2 separate regions of the Homo sapiens genome follow, and region 2 is linked to region 1. Evidence: promoter capture Hi-C in human tissues and cell types (Jung and others, 2019). All regions are on one chromosome and are shown on one strand. Each heading gives the region's core, a stretch centred on a gene start or on the middle of the fragment in contact. The rest is flanking DNA. Distances are from core to core; before and after follow the strand shown. Region 1 holds the start of VAPA (VAMP associated protein A). Region 2 overlaps APCDD1 (APC down-regulated 1).

Region 1 (7,278 bases), core at 2,502-5,001:
AGAGAGGTGGAGTGAGCTGCAAAGATCACACAGTGGAAAATGGAACTTGAACCTAGCAGTCTAGATTCAAAGCCTGTATTTTACTTTACTGCCTCAATATTTATGGAAAGCATGCCTGTTTAAATGTTCACTGAAGTCAATAACTCAGAGAATTGCTCATAAACAAATTCATAATTATAGAGCACCTCTACTGTAAAGTTTAACATGTTTAACTATGGAGAAGTAGAGGGGTATAAGTACTTTGATACTATCCGTACTGAAAACAAAAAAAAATCTTTGCCAAGTCCATAAGAGAGAACTTGTCCAAAGGTGAATACTATTAGTGATTCAAATAGGTTGAAATAATATTCAAAGCCTTTGTACTTCTTAGACTCATGAAAATTTGGTTGCTTGATATGCTGGAGTGTATATATTTGCTAATACTTTAAGGCCTTTCTGTGCTGCATTAGCCAATCTAAAAAGAGCAAACAAAATGAACATAGGTCACATGGTTCATTATTCCTAGCTTAAATGTTAAACAATAGAGAAGTCAATGACATTTTAAATTGTGGGTTGTCATTTTATTGCGGCTTTGGGAAGAGCAAAAATGCACAGAATAGAACATTGGGCAATGTCCCCTGCCCATAGCTGAGCTCTATTACTAAGATGAGATGCTGTCATCTGTGTTTTCATTTCCACATTTAACAACAAAAGCGGCACTTGCCAACTGTCATGAAGTTGTTCTGAGTAGGGTGTGATGATGTTTGTAAAGTTTGTAGTGCTGGAAGAAAAGTACTAATAAATACCAAAGCACAAACCACTTAAATAGTGCACAATTCGATGTGAAGTAGAAGATTCAAAATGACTCAGTGATTATTAATCTAATGCTCTAAAATACGAATAGGGGATTAATCCCAAGATGTTTCACATATTCTTAGAATATTAGAATTTTAAATTCTTATATGTTTTAAGACTATACCTACATGATTTTTGAAGCAATATTGAGAAGTGAAAAAACAGTTGATTCCAACGACAGATGACTCAAATGGGCAGAGATTTCTTAATAATATAGACTGGGAAACTAGAATACATCCAATTCAGGCTTCCCATTAAATCTATAGTGAATGGGCGATCATTCATCCTCCCATAGGGGAGTTACTGGGAATTTCCTCCGCATGCTATTCTGCTAGTTGACTATTTGCACATGGGGGCTTCCCAAATGGTTTCCGGTAAGAGAAGTGTGCTTCCTGCTATGGAGGGACTGGATCAGCCTAGGCTAGCTGGCCCATGGAAGAGAGTTCTTAGGCCGGCAAAAAACTGGAGTTTGTGAGGGCCTTTAGGGTTGTCAATTCACAACTAAACCTATGTGGGACACTATCCTTTGGACTGATTGTCACTTTTAGCTTTTTTTTTTTCTTAAACAAAAACAAAACTTGAACCCCCATTTTAATAAACAATTTTTTTTGTATTCTACCTTAATGATAATTGACATCTCAAAATAAATTTTGTGAATAGGAAGAAATCACAGTAAAGGTAAATTTAGAATATGCTTCAAACTACTTAAGCACTCTATCCTCCTGCATCCGGAGTTGATTCCTTCCAGTGGGTTCCTGGTCTTGCTGACTTCAAAAATGAAGCCCCGGACCTTCACGGTGAATGTTACAGCTCTTAAAGATGGCACAAACCCAGGCCAGGCGTGGTGGCTCATGCCTGTAATCCCAACACTTTGGGAGGCCAAGGCGGGTGGATCACTAGGTCAGTCCTGTAATCCCAGCACTTTGGGAGGCCAAGGCGGGTGAATCATGAGGTCAGGAGATCGAGACCATCCTGGTTAACACGGTGAAACCCCACCTCTACTAAAAATATAAAAAAATTAGCTGGGCATGGAGACAGGCGCCTGTAGTCCCAGCTACTCAGGTGGCTGAGGCAGGAGAATGGCGTGAACCTGGGAGGCGGAGCTTGCAGTGAGCTGAGATCACGCCACTGCACTCTAGCCTGGGGGACAGAGCGAGACTCCCTCTCAAAAAAAAAAAAAAAAAAAAAGAAAGAAAGAAATGATGGCACAAACCCAAAGACTGAGCAGCAGCAAGATTTATTGTGAAGAGCAAAAGAACAAAGCTTCCACAATGTGGAAAAGGACCCAAGCAGGCTGCCCCTGCAGGCTGGGGTGGCCAGTTTTTATTGGCTTATTTGTCCCTGCCCATGCCCTGCTGATTGGTCCATTTTACAGAGTGCTGATTGGTCCATTTTACAAACCTCTAGCTACCTACAGAGTGCTGATAGGTGCGTTTTTACAGAGCACTGATTGGTGCATTTTACAAAACTCTAGCTAGCTACAGAGTGCTGATTGGTGCATTTTACAATCCTCTTGTAAGAAAAGTTCTCCAAGTCCCCACCCAACCCAGAAATCCAGCTGGCTTCACCTCTCACTCCCAGGAATTTCAGGGCTGAAAACACATTCCTCGTGGGTGGCACAATCTTCTGTGAATGCCAGGCTAGCAATTCCAGCAGGCTGTTCCTGGATGGACCCTAATACCTGGATCGCACATGAAAACTTGGATTTGGTGCCTACTTCTAGACTGCTGTTTCGTCTCGTTTATTTTCTAGACAAACTGTGCTGCTCCATGGCAGTAGCATCAATATGTCTTTTGTTTCGTGGCGCTACCTAGGGATTTAAATTCAAACCGTATCACAAAATACAATAAAGGTTTATTTACAGCACATTGGTTTCATTTGACGTTCCTGTACCGGACTACCCTGGCAATCGGCTAAAGTTTTGTCAGCAAGTTTGCTGCTGGGATTTTTCTTATTTGGTTCAGTTTACTACAGCCTATCGTAAGTGATGCAGATGGAGTTAGTTTCTAACATGTGAACGTGAGAACTGTTTTGGTTTGGGTCCATCATTAAAACTGAAGAAGATTATTTGGGTTCGATGGTGTAGATTTTTGACTTTTATTTCTAGTTTCTGTGTGCTTTGTCATATTTCCCCTTGCTTCCTAGACGAGGTGTGTTTCCTTATCTGATTTTGCATCACTGGAGAGAACTCAGGAAGCAGGAGAGGCTGAATTGGATACCACGGGGAATGCAGCCCTGCCAACAGAGGACTGGATAGAATTAGAGCAAACGGACACATCCCCCCACGCCTGTTCTCCACAGGGCAGATTTTATTAATATATTTCTAACATTGGGGCCTCGTTTCAGTCTTCAAGTTTTTTCTTTTTTAGCGCAAACTAGACGCGCTCTGAGAGCCAAAATTAGCGTCCGCGAACCCCACCCCATTGCCTCCAACAGACCTAGCTCTCCTTTCCACCCTCAAACAGCCGTTACTACAGTTCCCAGCAAGCACCGCGCAGGGCCGCAAAGGGCCAGGCCCTCGGCGAAGGCCCCGCCCCGCAGGGGGCATGCCGGGAGTTGTAGTGAGTGGGCGCTTCCCTACTACTACTTGTCCCTTCCACTGGGCATTCCCACTTGGAAGAGTGTGATGCGCTGCCAGAGCAGTTTCTCTAGTTCCGTACTCGGAGCTCAAGGTGACAGAGGACTGCGCTTCCAGCCCTGCGCTGCGCATCGCGTCGGTCCCGCGGACCTTTGCCCCGCCTCCTTCCACACCCGTTCCCTTGACAGCTGGGCTGCGCTCCGGGCCGCGGCAAGCCGCGAGCGCGCAGGCGCAGCAGCCCCGCGCCGCGCTAGGCCGGCCTGGAGGGCGGGACAAGCGCTAGAAGCTCCCGGCCGGGGGCGCGCACGTAGGCACGCAGAGGCCGTCACGTGGGTCGCCGAGGCTCGCAAGTGCGCGTGGCCGTGGCGGCTGGTGTGGGGTTGAGTCAGTTGTGGGACCCGGAGCTGCTGACCCAGCGGGTGGCCCACCGAACCGGTGACACAGCGGCAGGCGTTAGGGCTCGGGAGCCGCGAGCCTGGCCTCGTCCTAGAGCTCGGCCGAGCCGTCGCCGCCGTCGTCCCCCGCCCCCAGTCAGCAAACCGCCGCCGCGGGCGCGCCCCCGCTCTGCGCTGTCTCTCCGATGGCGTCCGCCTCAGGGGCCATGGCGAAGCACGAGCAGATCCTGGTCCTCGATCCGCCCACAGACCTCAAATTCAAAGGTAGGCAGAACGGGGACACCCCCGGGTGGGGTGGGGCGCGCGGACCGCTGGCTGTCGGCGGGGGGGCGCGGAGGGCACGTCCGCGGCCCTGGCCCGAGGGAGCGCCCCCTCCCCCACGCCCCGGCGCCTTCCCTTTCCCGGCTGCTTTCTTGCCGCCACCTCGGCCGGCCTGCCCCTTGCTCCGGCCCGCTTCATCCCCTCCCGCCCGCCCTCGCTGCGGTGCGCGCGCCGGCCGGGGCGAGGCGGAGGGGAGCCCGGCCCTGGCGCCGCCGCCGCCGCCATCTTGCGGTCCCGCGGGGGCGCCTCCTGGGCGTCCGGTCCCGCCCGCGCCGCGGTCCGCCTGGGCCCGCGTCCTTGGCCCCAGAGGCCGACGGCGTGCTTCGGCGGGGCGTGGGCGGCTGGGCACCCGAGGGCGTGCGCTCTGGGCTGCGGCGGGGAGTGGGCTCTGGAGGTGGCGCAAGCTGCGTCTGTCGCCCGCTCCCGGCTGTCAGCGGCGCGGGGAGGCTAGGGCACGGCGCGGGACCCCTTGGGAGTGAGAGCCGCCCCCCGACCCCTGCCCCGGCCCGGGGAGAGCTCGCTGCAGCCGGCCCTCGGGTTCCGCGGAGGGCGTCGCTTGTCACCTTTCCGCCAGGTTTAGAACTCGGCCGTCAGGTGTAGGACGCGCCGGGGAGGTGGAGAGTCCTTGGAGGTGCCTGGCGAGGGCTGCCCGGTGCTGTTGGCACGGACCCAGGTGCGTGCGGGCAGGAGCGATGCGTCAGCCGCAAACGGAGAGTTGTAGGTTCATAGTAGCGGGGCTTCCTGCCTTCTACGACATTTCAGTGTGCCACCCGCGTGCTTTTATTTAGCCCTTTAGTTGAGCTCCTCTGCTGAGAAACCTTCAGTGCGTGTGACTTTTTTGCTTTTACGTTTGCGGTTTCCGACAGATCCTGAGAAGGCTGATAAGGTGTCACCCAGCTCTGGAACTTTGTAGGTTTTTGTAGTACTGCCTGTGATAAGTTTTTTAGTCTGACTTGGTGATCCTGGAAGAATCCCAGGGGCTTTTGGTCGGTTTCCTTGTCAATATGTAGTGTACTTTAGGAAAGAGAGTTAAAATGTACAGATTTTTATTTTTTTTCTTTGTTTTTAAGGAATACTGAAAGAGTGTGAACATCTAATAGAAAGTAGGTTCCTTCCTATCTTTAGTTAAGTGTAAAGTGAGTCCCGTTTTGGAAGTCTATGTCTTGTATTTCAATTGTTGAATGAGAACAATTTTTGTGAGGTGTATAGCAATTCTAGTGCTAAAAGAAAAAATTAAATCCTTTATTGTTGTGTAAGGCTGAGTCCAAGAGAAAGCCAACTACATTGTTTTCCATAGGAAAAACTTCAGGTTTAGGAATTTAAAATATATTCTGGAATTATGAGATTAATATTGCATAACTACATTGCAAGCTTTTTAGTGCGTTTACAAATTTCTTTGAATAGAAGTGTAAGTGAGCTACTTGTTGGGTAAGGATTTGGTTTTAAGGTGCAGTGAATGTATTTTATTGCAAGTTTATGTAAGTTGTGTGATTTTTACGTAGTTGTAGCTGGGGGAAAACCTTTGAGGAATTATGAAGAGTCCTGACTCAGCCATTATCTTGAGATAATTTAATGTAAATCTGTATGGTGTGTTTTTTTTTAATATTTCGTTTTTATCTTTTGATTGGCTGTGTTTACAGTGAACATTTCCTCTACTGGATAACTATGTGTAAATTGCCATTAGGGATTTATAAGCCTTTACAACCAGTTTTAGGCCAGGAAATGTCCACAGAGTTTGAAGTTTTCTCCTTAGGGAAGTTGTTATGTTGCTATAGTAAGGGAGTAATAATAGTGGAGAAGCAAGTTTAAAAAACAAGCAAAAGCCCTACACAGTGACTTACTCATATATTTCCTTTTTTGGGGGTGTTGGAGAATTACAGCTATGATTATAGAACTCATTGTTTTTGTGTTGCCAGTAAAAATAAGACTAGCCAGGGAAGCAGAAAAGGTGTGTAGATGGTATAACAGAGACACAACCGTGTCTGAGGAAAGAAGCCCTTTCTCTATGTGCCCCATCCCTCCCTTAGGAAGCATTTAAGGAAAAGGCTTGTTTTTCATTTCAGGGGAGGTTTAGGCCAAGAGAGTGGTTGAGTAAACACACTGCTGTGAGAGAATGCCTGGTACTTAAATGCCCAATAGTTTGTTGTGTGTTTCAGTTTAAAGATGGAGATGATGGGGAGGATTGGGAGGTGACATTTGGTGTTTGATTCCTTAATATTATCGTTTTAGTCAAAGGTAAATTGTTGGCTTTGATGGAAACCTTTGTGTATTTAAATGCACAGTTCAACACTGAGGAGATTCATTTAGAATGTACAGTCTACTTGGGCTTAGTTTATGATAGAAAAAAATCATTTAACTGACTTACCCTAAGTCATTCAAAACTTTCTAAGTGAAGGACTTTTAGAAGACAGTTTTGCAAAATTCTTTGTCATCTTCTAGTAGGTTTATTTTAGTTATTGATTCTGAGTTTGAGATGGTTTCTCCAGGAGTGACTCAGGTAATCATTCTGAGATTGGATGGTTTTTCTTTTATACACCTAACAAGCATCTTGAAGATGAATTAACAGTATGTTGCACAATTTTGCAAAAGCAGACACCAACTATTTCAGTACATTTTTCTGTATACCTCAGTATTTAAAAAAAAGTTTGTTTTATACAGTCGTTAACATATAAAAGTGCATTTACGATGTAATGAATTCTGAAGTAGATCACTTGTGTTAGTAAAGAAAAAGAAGTAGACGCTGCTTTACTTCAAATTCTGTTTAAACCTTGGAAGTAATTTTACCTAGATTTCAGATTTGAAACTTGGTATTTTATGTGAAAGATTTTTTTTGTCTTTAAAATTTTTTACATGATAAAATTCCATTTATAATGTATTACACATTTTATTTTTCTACCTATTAGCAGTTTTTTTAAATTTTTTTATTTTTTGAGACGGAGTCTTGCTCTGTTGCAGTGGCTCGATCTCGGCTCATTGCAGTCTCTGCCTCCCGGGTTCAAGCAATTCTCCTGCCTCAGTCTCCAGAGTAGCTGGAACTACAGGCATGCACTACCATGCCCAGCTAATTTTGAATTTTTTGTAGAGACGGGATTTTGCCAGGCTGGCCTCGAACTTCTGACCTCAGGTGATCCGCCTGCCTTGGCCTCCCAA
Region 2 (7,278 bases), core at 1,629-4,128, 560 kb after region 1:
AGGCCAACATGAATTAGGGCAGAGAGGGAGGGCAGCCTCTGATGCCGGCTCCATTGCTGCAGCTGTCAGGGGGTCCCAGAGGTTTTCCTAGAATGGGACACAGGGAAAGGAGACCAAAACTCTGCCCTTCAACATGTTGATTCCCCTGGGCAGGTATCAGAAGGAGAATCGGCTCATAGGGTGATACCTGGACTGGGGTGTGCTTTCTGGGTCAGGGTTGAGTGGGTGTCTTGGGAAAATGGGTAAGAATAATGGGCTTCGAATTATACTTTGGGGCCTTTCTGGTTGGCAGCACTGCCCAAAGGCGGCACTGGACACTGTAGCTGCATAGCATTTCTCTTGTTTTATACTGGCCAGGTCCACTTGGTTTGAGATAGTAGCAGGAGAAGGGGCTTCATACCTACCTTTGGCTCGCTCTGAGTATAGTCTAGCCACCTTTCTGGGATTTTTTTTTTTTTTTTTTTACGGAGTTTTGCTCTTGTCACCCAGGCTGGAGTGCAGTGGCACCATCTTGGCTCACTGCAAGCTCCGCCTCCCGGGTTCAAGTGATTCTCCTGCCTCAGCCTCCAAGTAGCTGGAACTACAGGCTCCCACGACCATGCCCAGCTAATTTTTGTATTTTTAGTGGAGATGGGGTTTCACCATGTTGGCCAGGATGGTCTCCAACTCCCGACCTCCAGTGATCCGCCCGCCTTGGCCTCCCAAAGTGCTGGGATTACAGGCGTGAGCCACCGTCCGCCCGGCCGCCATCTTTCAAATGATCTCAGGTAACGGGAGGAAGGTGTGAATGTCATGAATTAAAACGGCCCACAGATAATCCAGAAACCTGGGGTTAGCCAGGAGCATCCCCGCAACCCGCCGTTCCCTCGGGGCCTTTGTGAAGGTCTGCTGAATAGGAAAAGCCTGCCCACTTTCTAGCAGAGACACCAAAGAGCCTCAAAACACCAAAAAGCACGGGGAGCCTTGAGTGCGAGGTCTGAGTGAGGAGGCAGGTGCGGCTGGGGAACTTGCTGGGCGGGCGTGGGCCGGGCTGTGGGCTCCGAACCCGACCTTGGACTAGTCCTTTGCACCCACTCAGGTTCTGGTTCCTTTTCCTCACCTTCATGCGCCTGCACGGGCTCTGATCTCTTCTGCTCTTTTTAGTACTGGGGGAAAAATTAACCATCATCACGTTTATTTTCTTACCTGCCTCTCTACCCCGTTGCACTCCTGGGTGTGGCTCCGCAGATGGAGTCTGAAAGCCCAGTCAGCATTGTTAAGGCTGGCGCCCAGGGGTACTCCAGGAGGGGACACTTCATTCCCGTCAATGTCCCTCTGCAGACCTGTCTGTGGCTCCTGGAGGGAAAATGCCCCACAAGTGAAAATTATTAAATATTGGCATGGCAATTAAAGACAGCAATTGTAAAGCTGACCTTTTTAGAATTTAACACCTTTTGGACAAATTGGCAAGTATGTGGACTTCAGAAACGGTAGCCAATCCTGGAAGCCAGTTCTGCTGTCATCAGCCGTGTGGCATTGGTAGTTATCTGACCTACTGGAGACTTCATTTTCCTTTTCTGTAAAATGGCAAAAATATAAGAATCAATAGGGTTAATGTGCAGAATCCTGTGGGCATCAGGATAGGGCCTGAATGCAAAGCTCCATCTCTCTTAACCTAGAGTAAGTCGCCCTTCTGGGCCAATGGCTCAGAGAGGAATGAAAATGACAATGTCGACTGACCAGGGAACATCAAAGTGTTTCATGATGCCTAGCCATAAAACACTTCCTCCCATTTTCTCCTCCCTGCTCTGCTAAGGCAGTTGTGGGAACATTTACCCAGATTCTTAAGAAATAGACTCTTTAAATCCCAGGCCTGATTCCTTGATGACAGAAAATTAAGGTGGAAAGAGCTTTAGGACCTTAGATACTACACGAGACATATTGTTAAGTAGGAAAAAAGGAAGTTATAAAATAGCGTGAATAATATGATACCATCTGCATAAAACTAATAATGAAAGGAGAAGAAGAGGGACTCTTTGCAAAGGAATCAGATATTTATGGAGGAAATTAATGACTGCCTCAGAGGAAGTGACAGAGTTGTCTATCTGGGATTGTCGGACAGAGACTTCACTTTTGGTACCTGTTGCATTTTGTGCTGTGATCTTCTATTACCTAAGCACAGTCATCACAGAAAATTTAGATTAAAAAAAAAAAAAAGCAAGCAAACACTCCCAGACCCAGAGGAATGCTGTGGCCACAGATGCAGGTGGCAGCCCAGCTGGAAGGAGGACCCAGGCTTCCTGAGCCAGCCTAGCTGCCTCGCAAGATGGCTGAGGGGGGGGGGGGTCAGTGGAAGGCCGAGTGGCTCTGGTAGCTGAAAGGGTCCATTCTTCTCTTGTCTCTCGCCTTGTACCTCTTGGCCTGCAGTGTGCAGCGGAGTCTTCAGGAAGTTTTCAGATCCTTCCCCAGGACAGCTCTGAGAAGGAACAAAATGGACTCAGCCATTGGTGTCTTTCCAGACCCGGGCACCAGAAAGACTGGGCACTGTGTGCCCACGCGGGCCCAGCCACAGCAGGTTGTCCGAGCTGTCTGTGGCCGCCAGCGGAGACAGGAAGAAAGGCTGGGAGAACGTCTTCAAAGACCGTACACGCCTGCCCAGGAGAGGCTGGAACCTCCTCCTTTGAACTCTTCTACTTCCCTAATTGCTGGTCCATAGAGACCAAGCTGAAAATTAGTTTAAATGCTAAATTGAGTTTCAAACCACGAGCCTCAGCCCCTCTAGAAACAGGACACCGTGTAAAAATAGAAACTTTAAGTCAACTTGTTTTTCTAAGCTTTATACAGCTTTGCTGTGAGGTCCAGAGTCCTTTGGCAAATAAGTGACGTTTGAAGAGATTCAGGTGTGCTGGGAGGGTTCATTCAGGATGGAACTGGCTACTCTTCATTATAAAAAAGTCAAGACAGCGTAAAGTAACCCTGAAAGAAGATGCTTTGCCTGAATCAAGTTTAGCGTCAGAGCAGCCATAATCCTCTGCCGAGATTCTTCAGAACTATGCAGTTGGAGGGGTAGAAGCCAGGCTCATTCTTTCAGGGATGGAATCAAATGGTAATTAAAAGCAAATGATTGCCAAGGTCGTTAGAGATGCCAGAGCCTCAGGATCAGACTCGTAAGCAAATGGAATTGGTCTTTCTCCAAAATCCTGCACTGATTTAACCACAGGATCGTAAATCAAAGGGGCTGTCTGAAAACCAGACAGCCTTCCCCAGGCTGTGCATCTGAAATACTCGATCCCAGCACATGTACAGCAGGGGAGCTACACACGGGAGGGAGAAAAGCACCGGGCTTTGGGAGTACCTGAGAACTGCAGAAAAAGAGCATGCTGTGCTTTCTCTCTCAAATTCTTTAGGAGCCGCTAGGCTGGAGCCAGCATATGTTTTTGAGGTAGCTTGCCTCTCAGAGGCTTTTTAGAGGATGTGTGACCTGTGCAGCTTCCTGATGTCAGTGACACCATGGGGATGTTGAGTCAGGTGGTCTTGGAGCCTGGACTTTTCAGCCTAGCTGCAGGAGCCAGCATGGAGGGACGTCTCCTGAGCATGTGCTTGGTGTGGCTCCTGGGTGGGTGGGCGGCTGCGTCTCTGGGGTATAGAAGGAGCCAGGTGCTTGTGGAAGAATTCCATACCACTTTTCTTTCTGCTAGTGTGGATTTGCAGAGGTGATGGGAGATGGACGAGGTGGTGGACAACCAGAAGTTCAAGAAGTCATGACCTAAGACAGTTTCAAGAACTAGTCTTACAGGAAGGAGAACCCTAGAAGAAAACTGTGACTGCTCCCTGGAGCCAGGTGTTTCCTATAAGGCAGCAAATGTTGCACAATTCTATGAAAAAACAGAGCTGGCAATTGGGATAGGTTGAGGGGGTCTTGACCCTGAAGGGGTTGCTTTTGTGGACCTTTTATCTGGGCCGAGGTGTGCAGTGTCACAATCACTGGGCTACAAGGCTGCTGATAGACACTTCTATTGCAGAAACAGCTCATTATATTTCTTGACTCCAGAGTATTTCAGCAGATAAACAGGCATGCAAGGTTGCTTTATTTAAGGAGTTAGGGGACCAGGAAATATTTGTTGTCAGGGACAATGCAAGTGGTAAATATTTTATCCCTTAAAAGGCAAGAAAGCTCAGAGGACATGAGGAAACCCTGCAAAAGCAGGAAATTGGCCATTTAAAAAGTACGCATGAGGTCCCTACTCCAGGGAGTGTTTGCTGAGCCCCAGGGGAGAAAGGAAGAGGATGGGCCAGCCAGGAGTGCCCAGTGGATTTACAGCAGATTTAATAAGTCTACTTTAATTATTTAAATGAATCAAAATGCATAGGAGTGGAAGAAAGAAACAAGTAAAAAGAAATAAAAATTCTTTTCGGAAACCATTCTTAAAGTCTTTTCTCTTAAAGAACCATCTTCTTAGGGTCCTTTTTCTCCAGTTGCTGGGTGAGGCAAAATGGTCTTTTTTATTATTCTAATGTTAACTAAAACAAAAAAAGGCCTTTGTGAGCTCACTTCTCAGATTCTAAGCTGCCTTGGAAGTCCATTTCCAGAAGGCTAATGTTGCTCTTAAGGACCTACCAGCTGCCCCTGCTGAACTCCAGGGTGCAGAAGTGTTTGGTTGAGTTTTGCTCCCCTCTGCTTCATAGCCAACTACAGACTCAGGAATTAGCAGCCTGGTTTCTCCTTTTCTCCCTCATCCTCCTGGCCCAGGCCCCTTCCTGGACAGTGGTAACAGGCCCGAGGTGGCTGTGCAGCCTCCCTGAGGCTCTCTGAGTACCCCTGGCACCACAGAGGTGCCTGCATCCTGGCAGGGATGACGCAGCTGCACGGGGTCTGTACACTGAGGGGCTGCCCTCACCTGTGGAGAGTGGGTGCTGGGCAGCAGGTGCCTCAGTCCATCCAGGCTGCCATAGCAAAGCAGCATGGACTGGGGACAGCCACTCACTTCTCACAGTTCTGGACGTTGGAGAGCCAAGATCAAGGCACCAGCATGGTGGGAGGCTGGAATCCTGGTCAGGGCTCTCTCCCAGGTTGCAGACTGCTGACCTCCCTCTGTATCCTCATGTGGCAGCAAGACAGCTGGAGAACTCTCAGGCCTCTTTTATAAGGGCACTAATCCCCTTCTTAAGGGCTGTACCCTCATGACCTAGTCACCCCCCACAGGCCCCACCTCCTAATTTCCTCACATTCGTGGTAAGGATTTTAACATGGATTTTGAGGCGACACAAACATTCAGTGTGTTGGATAGACAGCAAGCCTGCCTGGGCAGTCTGTACCTAAAGCCACAGCTCTTCACCCACTTCCTTCTGAAAGTGGCATCATCATGCTCCCTTTAGATGATCAAAATGAGCCCCAATTCACAAGCTCCTAGAATCCCAGATAGGAAAAGCACCCCGAGTTCCCTCCCACAAGGCAGGTGGGCGCCCATCATTTGTGATGAATGCTAGCTACTCCATTTAATTCTTTACATGTCCAATGCCAGCTTTCTCTCCGTTTGCCTGTTAGCCGAGAACCCTGTGCAACTCTCTCCTGGATGTCATGGGAAATATGACAAAGAGAGAACACTTGGTCTTGGCCTCAAAGGACTCGTAATACAGAAGACCCGAGAAGGATGTACCTGCAGGGTTATCTACAGCAGAAATTTAATCAAATACTTGGCACATCGCAGTTACAAAGAAAGTTTTCAACGTGGGCCATTGGCCACTGCAGGTTTCTTTGTGAGAAACATTTGTGTGTTTTTTATCCGAGGGAACAAAACCCTAGGAAAGGAAGTTTCCATCATCTACTCCCATTTTTCCTCCTTCTTGAACAAAACTTTTAGCTCAAGGAACACTGCTTTTGAAGGCTTGTGTTTCATGCAGCCTGCTTCCTTAGTTGATCTGTTCACAAGATCACATCAAGTAATTTCTTCCATTCTGGGAAGATGGCGAAAACAAACAGATACTGTCAGCAGATGTTGATGAACCACCTTTCCAGAAATAAACAGTGGCAGGGAACAGAGAAAGCCTGGAGAATCCCCATCAGTCATCAGCCGGAGAAGACCTTTTCCTGGGCTGGAGTCCTTGCTGGGGAAACGTCTGTTCTCTGCAGCCTGAGGCAGCTCTGGCCAGGAGGCAGCACTCAGCAAGTCCTAAGACCAAATTACCATCCTGGCTCCACTTTGGGTTTGTAAAGTCATCTGACTTTTTCTCTCCAGGTGCCTTAGTTGCCTCGTCTGTAAAATGTACCCATGGTCTCCTGGGAGGTTGTAAAGTCTAAGGAGATGCTGTACTTGAGCCTCCGAGACTCGAATATCCTGTAAATGCAAGCTGTAGCTATTTAACTTGTTACCTGGAGCTAAGCAGGAATCAGAGAGCAGAGTAGGCAGAACCCCACTCTTTGCCTAGAACATTGCTCATTTATAAAGTATAAGTTTCTTTCTCATTTTTAGAACAAGTTTAATTTTTTTTCCAGAGATTATTTGCATGGGATCCTTTTTCTCCCTTCCCCTTTCTGATGAAAGCTTTTTATAGTGTGTGTAAAGAATAGCAACAAGGAAACACTTTCTGGTTCCTCTGCTTTAACCTTCAAATCTTCTGGGTACAGAAGCTCTGGCTTTAAATAGCCCTTTCTAAGATTCGGGGAAAGGGGATGCCGTGGAAGCCAAGTTGGTGAGCCTGGGAGAGGACACTTCTCAAATGAGAGTCATGTCTTGGAACATGGATCCCCAAAAAAGAGGGAATAATTTTACGGAGCAAATGATACTCCACAGTACCAATCACTCATCATGTTTAAAAACTGCATATCTAATTCTCTTTCCATGTATCCATCTTGGAAGAATACTGTTTCCGAAAAACATCTCAGAAAAGAGAAACTTTAGAATGAATACAATATACAGGCTTTAATTTCTGCTTCTCTGTAGTTGTGCCTGTAGGTCTCTAATTTTTATTCAGGCCAAAGATTATGAGAATTAGCATAAATGATATTTTTAAAATTTGTTACAATACAGAGGTGTCTCCTTATTCAACGGTAGCTAAAATTGTCCCCTCGTTGACAGTATCCACAGAGGCCAGAAACAACTCTGCTTGTTATGATAACTTTGGCTTCTTCATGACTGCTAAAGAGTTGTCCCAGCACTTGGGGAGGCTGAGGCAGGCAGATTGCCCTGAGCTCAGAAGTTTGAGACCAGCCTGGGCAACATGGTGAAACCCCGTCTCTACAAAAAATACAAAAAAAAAATTTATCCAGTCATGGTGGTGCACACCTGTAGTCCCAGCTAC

What was found. The method cuts DNA at HindIII sites, captures the fragments that hold promoters and counts their contacts. A contact is called where the count stands out against the background at its distance.
Region 2: a contact is called between a fragment that was not itself captured here and the fragment with the promoter of VAPA in region 1, in 1 of the 25 tissues and cell types used here (hippocampus).

The regions. Positions count from the first base shown.
Region 1 is chr18:9,910,265-9,917,542 of GRCh38, forward strand. It overlaps VAPA (VAMP associated protein A), which reads left to right and starts at 3,752. Exons shown (of 6, transcript NM_194434.3): 1 at 3,752-4,071. The coding sequence starts at 3,993. It overlaps LOC124904245 (a long non-coding RNA gene), which reads right to left and starts at 3,684. Exons shown (of 2, transcript XR_007066284.1): 1 at 3,448-3,684; 2 at 2,669-3,069. RefSeq lists silencers at 3,687-3,736, 3,947-4,736 and an enhancer at 4,254-4,871. The HindIII fragment of the contact is 8,911 bases long and covers 1-7,278 here.
Region 2 is chr18:10,473,481-10,480,758 of GRCh38, forward strand. All of the region lies in intron 3 of APCDD1 (APC down-regulated 1), which reads left to right. Among named protein-coding and RNA genes, the nearest start is that of APCDD1, 22 kb to the left of the region's middle. RefSeq lists a silencer at 4,032-4,326. The HindIII fragment of the contact is 3,578 bases long and covers 1,090-4,667 here.